3 separate regions of the Homo sapiens genome follow, and all the other regions are linked to region 3. Evidence: promoter capture Hi-C in human tissues and cell types (Jung and others, 2019). All regions are on one chromosome and are shown on one strand. Each heading gives the region's core, a stretch centred on a gene start or on the middle of the fragment in contact. The rest is flanking DNA. Distances are from core to core; before and after follow the strand shown. Region 1 holds the start of ICOSLG (inducible T cell costimulator ligand). Region 2 holds the start of AIRE (autoimmune regulator). Region 3 overlaps TRAPPC10 (trafficking protein particle complex subunit 10).

Region 1 (2,700 bases), core at 116-2,615, 140 kb before region 3:
CGCCCCGCCCCTGCCAGGCGCGCGATTTTAAATCCCCCCAACCCCCGTCTCTCAGCGTGGCCTGGGAGGGGGAAGCCGCCCGGCTTCAGGGCTTCCTGCGCCTTCGCCGCCGCCCTCCCTGCCCTTCCCCGCCGCCGTCCCCCCTATCCCCCCAGCCCGTCTCTTCCGCCTTCTTATTTTGTGCCTGGGCTCTCTGCTCCGCAAAAATGTTGACTTCCCACGGGCAGAGGTTTCAGAATTTTTTTAAAGCTTTTGTCCACGGCGTTCTCTACATCTTGGTTGAAGGAATGGCAGCCTGCGGGGTGCCGTCTGGGGCCCCCGTCTCCCTGCGCTTCTCGCCTCCTCCATGCGCAGGAGGCGGTGGGGATCCGAGCCTCAGCCCAGAGGCGGGGGCTCCGGGAGGAGGGTGCCCCGCTGCCCTGTCTAGCAGCCTCACCCAGGCCCTTCCGGAGGTGCCTCTGCAGAAAGGGAGTCACGTCCCCCCTGGGCCTCACCTGGCTTGCAGGGATCAGGGAGGGAGGGCGGGGTGGGCTGGGTGCGGTGGGGAAGGAGCAGGGACTCTGGGTCCCACCCTCGGTTGCGTGGTGCAGCCTTTCCCAAACCAGCTGCCCCAGACTCCAGGCCAGACGCCACTGCCAAGGCTGACGAGCCCAGAGCCGCAAGCCTGCCTCGGTTTCTCGGCGGGGGATCCTCAGAGCCAGTGTTAAGCAAAGAGGCTGCGCCAGCGCCCTTCACACCCCTAGAAGGCTAGGGGAGCAAGGCTAGGTGGGGGCGGGCTGGGGCTGGCCCAGAGGGTAGAGCCCGCCCACTTTCCCTCCCTCCTTCCATTCATGCATGCGTTCATTCAGTCATTCATTCCTCAGCAGTCGCTGAGCTCACTCGCCTTAAGTCCTGGAGATCATCGGAGCGCAGCCGGCCAGGGGCCTGGCGCTCTCCCAGCCTTGGGGCCTGGGTCCCCGGACTCCTGCTCGGGGAGGGCCGCAGGACCGGCGCATTGTGCGCGGCGCGGGGAACGGCCCTTGCCTCCCACGGTGCCCTCCCTCGCTGCGCCGGCACCCGCAGCACCCCTGGCCACCTTCCTGCCGGGTACCCCCCACCCCTGCGCTTCCCAGGGCACCTACGGCGCCCAGGTCCGCGTCCAGGCGGACAGGCCGACCTGCCTCTGTCCCGCCTCCGGCCGACGGGCACACGCCTGGGCAGAGCCGAACTTTCCGGAGCCGCCGCGCAGCGCCCCGCCTCCTGTCCCGGGGCGGTCTCGGTCGCCAGAGGAGCCAGGCCGGGGGCGGGGCGGGGACGGGGCGGGGACACGGCTGCCTCCAGCACACCGCGCGCTGGGCGCTCAGAGCCTCGGGCGCGGCGGGAGCGCAGTTAGAGCCGATCTCCCGCGCCCCGAGGTTGCTCCTCTCCGAGGTCTCCCGCGGCCCAAGTTCTCCGCGCCCCGAGGTCTCCGCGCCCCGAGGTCTCCGCGGCCCGAGGTCTCCGCCCGCACCATGCGGCTGGGCAGGTGAGCCGGGGAAGGAGCGGAGGCGCCGCGGTCAGGGGCGGGGTGGCTCGGCCCGCGCGTCCCCAGCTCGGCTCGGACGCGGGGCCTGCGGGGCTCGCCTGGAGGTGCCGGGCTGGCAGTGCGGGTCCGAGGAGCGGGCGGCGGAGGCGCCGGGGCGGCCGGCGGGGCGTGGACGGCAGTGGGCGGCGGGGCCTGGCACCGGGACCCATGGCAGGACGCACAGCCGTGCGGGGGCGGGCTCGGGGGCGGGGTCCCTGCCAGGGAAGGAGGACCGCGAACGCTGGAAGGAGGGAGGGAAGGCGGGCGCACCCTGCACGCCGGGGCACGGGCGCTGCCCCTTCCACTCCCTGGCACTGCTGATTTCCTAGAAGAAGGGAGAAGGAGGGAGGTGACCGGCCGAGCGCTCTCCAAGGCCAGCTGGTGCCCACGGTCTGCGGACACGCCCTCCCCCACACACGTGGGATTCCCCGCAGCCCGGCAGCCGATCCACACTGGGGAAGGCGGGGCTGCCTGAACCAGGAGTGACAGCTTCCTCCTGGATTTTTGCGAAAATATCCAAAATATACTCTTCGCAACCCACGTTGTAGGGTCCGCAGCCTGTGCTCCCCTGGGTGAACCTGTGAGGCCCCTGACCCCAGGGATGCCTCCCGCACAGCTCAGAGCTGGGCCACACCGGAGTCACACTCCCCAGGTCCCCTCCCCATTAGAAGTGTATGCAGTTATGATCCTGCCCTAGAGAGAAAGAATTTAAAGGTCCCGGAATGTCATAGCCCTCCCAAATGTCTTAGCCCTCCGCCACCCACACCTTCAGGTAGGCGGCCCTGTCCATGCTGGGTCTTGAGGCAAGCTCGGGGTGGGGGTAGGTTAGATGCAGGGGTGCTGAGGGTCCAAGGAAAGGACACAGAGGCCGCTGCTTAGGCAGCACCCAGGGAGGGGACAAGCCAGAAACAGCCTGGAGCAGGCACCCCCCACCCTGGCCCAGGAAGCCCCCAGATGTCCTGAGGAGGCCTCCATAGACAGGAGGGGCCTTGTGGGCTGGTGATGAATATGGGCACTGTGGGAGACAAATGGGGGCACAGAGGAGTTCTCACAGCTGTCGTTTAGATGGTGGCTCTGGGGAAATGCTTGAAGGGGCTAAGGGTGGAGGCAGGGGGCCTGCTGGAGGCCATCACAGCCATCTTGCCAGCCAGAATGGT
Region 2 (2,700 bases), core at 92-2,591, 190 kb before region 3:
CCCGGGTGGGGAGGGGGCGTGGGCTCCCGGGGAAGCCCGGGAAGACTGGAGACCCTGGCTGGCTTCCCCTGCAGGGAGGGTACCTGGGCTGGCGGTGCCCCTTGGAGTCAGGGCTGCTGGCGCGGCAGCTCGAGCCTCTTCTGAGGCCTTCCTCTTGGTGGGGAGTCTGGGTGGCGGTACCAAAGCCTTGGGGACGGCCGGGGGCTTCCTCCCCTTCCGGGGCTGGCTGAGGTCCACATCTGCAGCTCAGGGGCAGGAGCAGGGTCCCAACCTCAGGGTTTTCTCCAGGGGTAGGGTGGGCCCCAGAACTGGACACCTTGGCCAGACAGGTGAGGCCTGGCCCCTTTGCCTCTTAGGATCCAAGACGGTCCTGGAACATCACCCACGGGCTCCTCAAACACCACTCCGGTTCCAGTCCAGCTGGGCTGAGCAGGTGACAGCAGCTGCCCCAGGCCCCCAGCATGGCTGAGTCCACCAGGACCCACCTTTGGGGAAGCTGTCCAGGATGGGCTGCAGCCGGCCATAGCGCTCCAGGTTGTAGTCCTTGAACAGCACCCTCCAGAAGTCCAGGATGGCTGTGGAGTCCTGGGTCAGCAGCCAGGACAGGAGGGCGTGGAAGGCCTGGGGGCAGCCCTCCTTTTCCTTCAGATGAAGCGTCTCCTGCAGTGGGGTGGCATGAGGGTCCCTGCCATGGTCCCCCACACCCTGCGGCCTGCCCATCTCCATCATGACTAGAGGGTGGAGCTCCCAGGCAGAGGCGCTGGCGACCTGGACAGCTCCACGCCCATCTCCTCGGCTTGTGGTGGAGTCAGGTGGTGGTGTAGGGGTGTTGAGGGTGGGGCTGGGGGAACCTGGAGGCCATTCCCTTGGCTTGGGGGTGAGGTGTGGGGACGGCTGGGGGAAGGGGACCAACTTCTAACTTGTCATCAGGGACGCCCCTGGCTCCTTGTGGGGAGGGAGTTGGGGAAGGCTGGAGGGGCTTGGGGATCTGGAGGGGCGGGGTCCTCCTGGAACTTCCCCGGGGACTATCCCTGGCTCACAGGGCCTGGGGGCAGCGGGGGGCGGGCGGGGAGCCCACCTGAAACTTGTCCTCGGGGACCACGTCGTGGTCAGCCAGCGCGTGCAGCAGTGGGAAGGCGCTGTCCACGGCCACCGCGATCTCCGTGCGGTGCAGCCTCAGAAGCCGGCGTAGCGCCGCGTCCGTCGCCATGGGGTGGGCGCGGGGACCCGGGGCTGGGGCGGACGCGGTGGGTCCCGGGACACTGGCAGCCCCTCGCTTGGCCTCGGGTCCCGGCGGGGCTGTGGGGCCTCCGCGCCGGCTGTGCGCCCGCCCGTCTCCCCGGTCTGCGAGCCACGCGCGCCGCTGTTATACCCCCGCGACCACGCAAAGAGCAAAGGCCGCTCCGCCCCGGCGCCCAATCAGGGCCAGGGCCTCCCGCAGGGACACTTCCCTGTGATGGAGGCGCTGCTGTCCCTCCCTCGCTCTCGGGAAGTCTCCGGGCCTGGCCTGACTCACCCACCAGGGCAGCTGCCTTGGGGGCTGGGGACAGAGACTCGCTCTGTGCGGGACTCAGAGAACTCTCACTTCCGAATGTGGCCCTGTCCTGCCTCGGCGAGGGCCCTGCTCGAATGGGGCAAAGCCGAGACAGGTGCCCTCGGCGGGGAGGCTCGGGTCTCAGGGCCCTGGCAGGGGCTGCCCAGGGTGCACCGGCCCCTCCCAGTGGCCGGCAAGAGCCTCCATGGAGGCTGGATCGGGGTGGTGTTCCTGGGGGACCTCCACACAAGCTGAGAGCCCCTACTCAGGGGCCCGCCTGGGGCTGTGGGAGGAGCCCGATGGAGGCTCAGTCTGATGCAGGAGACGGTACGGCAGCCTGGGTGTTGCCAGGGAGCTCCTGACCTCACCATCTTAGGCTAGCTGTGTGACGCCAGGCAAGTCCTTTCCTTCTCTGAGCCTCGGTTCCCTCATCTTTAAAAGGGGCACACTCGCCTGGGGATTGAGGCTCGCATTGACCCCCTCCTTCCTTCCTCCAGGTGCTTTAGAAGGAAGGCGGCCAGCCCCACAACGGGGGTCCTGAGTGTGGCCCTGAGTGAGAGCTCCCAAAGGGTCTTCCTAGGACCAGTGACAGAGGCTGAGGGATGCTGTGGCCTGGACAGGAGCTTCCGGGGGCATCTGGGAAGGTGTCCGGGAGGGGAGCTGCAGTGGACAGGAGCCGAGGGTCCCAGGTGGACGTGAGTGGGGACAGTGCCCCCAGTAAAACAAGACCAGGTGCAGAGGCCTGGGGCCTGCAATGATGCTGAGGCTGTGGTGGCCCCGCAGGCATGGCCTGGAGGGGGGGTGGCCTCAGTGGGAGGCCTTGGTAACAGTCCCCTTGTCTGTGCGGTCAAGCCAGGGAAGCAGGCCCTGTGTGCAGGCTGCAGAGAACCACGAGAGGTCTCTGGGCACGAGTGTTCCCACTGAGCCAGAGAACGAGATGACCTGGCCAGCATGGATTAGGGCTGAAGGGTGGACGAAGGTACCAGGAAGCCTGAATCCAGGCAGCACTGGGCTGGGGGCTAACTGATGCAGTGAGAGACGCCACCAAGATTCCCACGTGGGCAGGCGTGCCGTTTGCTTTTGGGCAGCCAGAGTCCAGGATGGAGAGCGGCAGACACCTCTCCTCTAGACCAGGGGTCGGTCTCGGTTTCTCCTACCGCCTTCAG
Region 3 (2,700 bases), core at 122-2,621:
TCATAAACTTTTCATAAAGCATCAATGATTTCACCATTCTTCCACCCAAGCTTCACCATAAATTTGATGTTGGTTGTTTTGTTGTTGTTGTTGTTGTTGAGGCGGAGTTTTGCTCGTTGCCCAGGCTGGAGTGCAGTGGCGCAATTTTGGCTCACTGCAACCTCCGCCTCCTGGGTTCAGGCAATTCTCCTGCCTCAGCCTCCCAAGTAGCTGGGCTTATAGGCGCCTGCCACCACGCCCAGCTAATTTTTGTATTCTTAGTAGAGATGGGGTTTCGCCATATTAGCCAGGCTGATCTTGAACTCCTGACCTCAGGTGATCCGCCTGCCTCAGCCCCCCAAAGTGCTGGGATTACAGGCGTGAGCCACTGCACCCGGCCAATGTTGGTTCTTGATTTAATTTTAGCAGAATTCATGTTGCTCTGATAGGGGCTCTTTTAAAACTGATGTCTTATCCTTCTTAGTGCCTCAAACTAGATCCTGCTCAGTGAGTAGGAGCTTATTTTGGTGCAAAAAGTGTTGAAATCCATGCATAGTTTTTTCATAACGTATCTTCCATGATTTTTTTGAAGACCCCTTGTATGTAAAGCACTTAGTACCACTCCTGGGACATGGTAGTGTCTTAATATATGGCAGGTGTTATTATTAACATTAATTATTAAAACACAACCATCATGTAATTCAATGCAATTCAAACACTTAAGTGATCATTCACTGGGACTAGCCCTGGAGATATGAAAGTAAGCAAGACAGGATCCTTGCCATCCAGTAGCAGTAGACCTGGTAAAGAGGTCACAGCTTCCCATCATGAGGATACCGAGCAACCGCCCAGGGGGAGTGAGTGACCAGAAGGCCACGAGCAGCAGAGAAGGGCTCAGGGAGGTGGACATCCTGTAGTTGGGGATGGGGGACCTTTGAGGACAGGAGCTACTACAGGACATGCAGAGGCCCTAGGAGTGTCAGGAGGAAGGCAAAGGAGTGACAGTTCTCAGAGTGTGGCTCTCAGGGCACCCGCAAGCTCATAGCTTTCACACTGCTGCCTTTCTACGCTGCTGACCTCGCGCTGCTGGGGCAACCACAATGGCATGAACTCGGGCCAGACTGCGCAGTCATGTCACTCATGTTCTTTACTACCATGAACTCACAGCAAAAAAACAAAAAAAAAAATGCCACGCTTCACAAAGCAGTCAAAAGTGCTCATTTTATTAAATTCAGCTCCTGAGTAGACTTTTTTTTAATTGTGAAATGTTTATAGACTCACAAGAAGTTGTAAAAGTAGTAGAGGGGTCACATACCTTCATCACCAGCTTCACCCAACTGTGCCATCTCGTGTAACACAGGAAGCTGACACTGGTACCATACAGTGACCCAGGCTGCAGACCCCACTGGATTTCACTACAGAGTGAACCAGGCTGCAGACCCCACTGGATTTCAATACAGATAGAACCAGGCTGCAGACCCCACTGGATTTCACTACAGAGTGGACCAGGCTGCAGACCCCACTGGATTTCAATACAGCTAGAACCAGGCTGCAGACCCCACTGGATTTCACTACAGAGTGGACCAGGCTGCAGACCCCACTGGATTTCAATACAGATAGAACCAGGCTGCAGACCACACTGGATTTCACTACAGAGTGGACCAGGCTGCAGACCCCACTGGATTTCAATACAGATAGAACCAGGCTGCAGACCCCACTGGATTTCACTACAGAGTGAACCAGGCTGCAGACCCCACTGGATTTCAGCAGCTTTCGCAGGCATTCTTTGGGTCTAATTCTATGGCATTTGTCACATGTGTAGATTCGTGTAACAACCACAGCGGCCCTGGCCCAGAACTCTCCATTACCACAGAGGACGGCCTCCTGCTGCCTCCCACTGCTCCGTGGAACACTGACCCGCTCTCCTTCTGAGGCTGGCATTTTGAGGATGTCATTTAGAAATGGAATCACACAGTACACCTCCTTATAGGACTGGCGTTTTTCTCTTAGTATAATGCCCTTGAGATCCAACCACAGCACTGCGTGTGTCAACAGTCCCTTCTGTTTCACTGCTGAGGAGGAATCAGATGTGCCAGTTTAACCGCTCTCGAGCTGAAGGACGTTTGAGTTATTTCCATTCTTGAGTGCTTGTGTTCTTGACATTCTCTGGGTCTCTGCTGCAGAATGACAGCTGGCTCAGGGAAAGCACACGGGGAGCGCTCGGTGCTGCGAGCTGAAATAGCCGCTGTTTTCACAGAACGCCCTTTTCACTTGCAAGAGCGCTGGGGAAGCTAGTTATTCAGTGTTGGGTATTTGGTAGACGTCTGATTAAAAATGAATGATGTAAGCCTGTCACTTCAAAGAAAACAACACGACTATTTGCTGCCAATGATGCCATCTGAGACTTTAAGCAAAAATCAGAATTTTGGAAAACTTACACTTGCCACTGTGAGCTTGAAAGAGTTCTGATGCTCCAAGCCCTCCCTGAGAGATCACAAATGCAGATTTTAAAAAAATATTGTCAAACGAAAGGTGCCCACATTTGGAAGATCTGCACAACTCAGGAAACCATGTTTCCCACATGACTAATGGCACAGGGTGTAACGCTATGATGCCTGGGTAAAAGAGCCATTCAAAATGCAAGATAGGCTGAGTGCAGTGCCTCACACCTGTAATCCCAACACTCTGGGAGGCCAAGGCGGGAGGACTGCTTGAGCCCAT

The links. Contacts are between HindIII fragments. The study calls those that stand out against the background at their distance.
Region 1: the fragment with the promoter of ICOSLG here is called in contact with a fragment that was not itself captured in region 3 in 2 of the 25 tissues and cell types used here (dorsolateral prefrontal cortex and spleen).
Region 2: the fragment with the promoter of AIRE here is called in contact with a fragment that was not itself captured in region 3 in 2 of the 25 tissues and cell types used here (spleen and stomach).

Annotation. Positions count from the first base shown.
Region 1 is chr21:44,239,608-44,242,307 of GRCh38, reverse strand. It overlaps ICOSLG (inducible T cell costimulator ligand), which reads left to right and starts at 1,365. Exons shown (of 7, transcript NM_015259.6): 1 at 1,365-1,504. The coding sequence starts at 1,491. RefSeq lists cis regulatory regions at 639-1,554, 630-1,554, 555-1,554 and an enhancer at 2,110-2,700. The HindIII fragment of the contact is 7,916 bases long and covers 1-2,700 here.
Region 2 is chr21:44,284,517-44,287,216 of GRCh38, reverse strand. AIRE (autoimmune regulator) reads right to left here and starts at 1,341. Exons shown (of 14, transcript NM_000383.4): 1 at 1,079-1,341; 2 at 486-660; 3 at 84-239. The coding sequence starts at 1,210. RefSeq lists enhancers at 1,862-2,463, 2,464-2,700. The HindIII fragment of the contact is 44,459 bases long and covers 1-2,700 here.
Region 3 is chr21:44,098,553-44,101,252 of GRCh38, reverse strand. The region is part of intron 21 of TRAPPC10 (trafficking protein particle complex subunit 10); the gene reads right to left. Among named protein-coding and RNA genes, the nearest start is that of PWP2, 7.5 kb to the left of the region's middle. The HindIII fragment of the contact is 4,324 bases long and covers 1-2,700 here.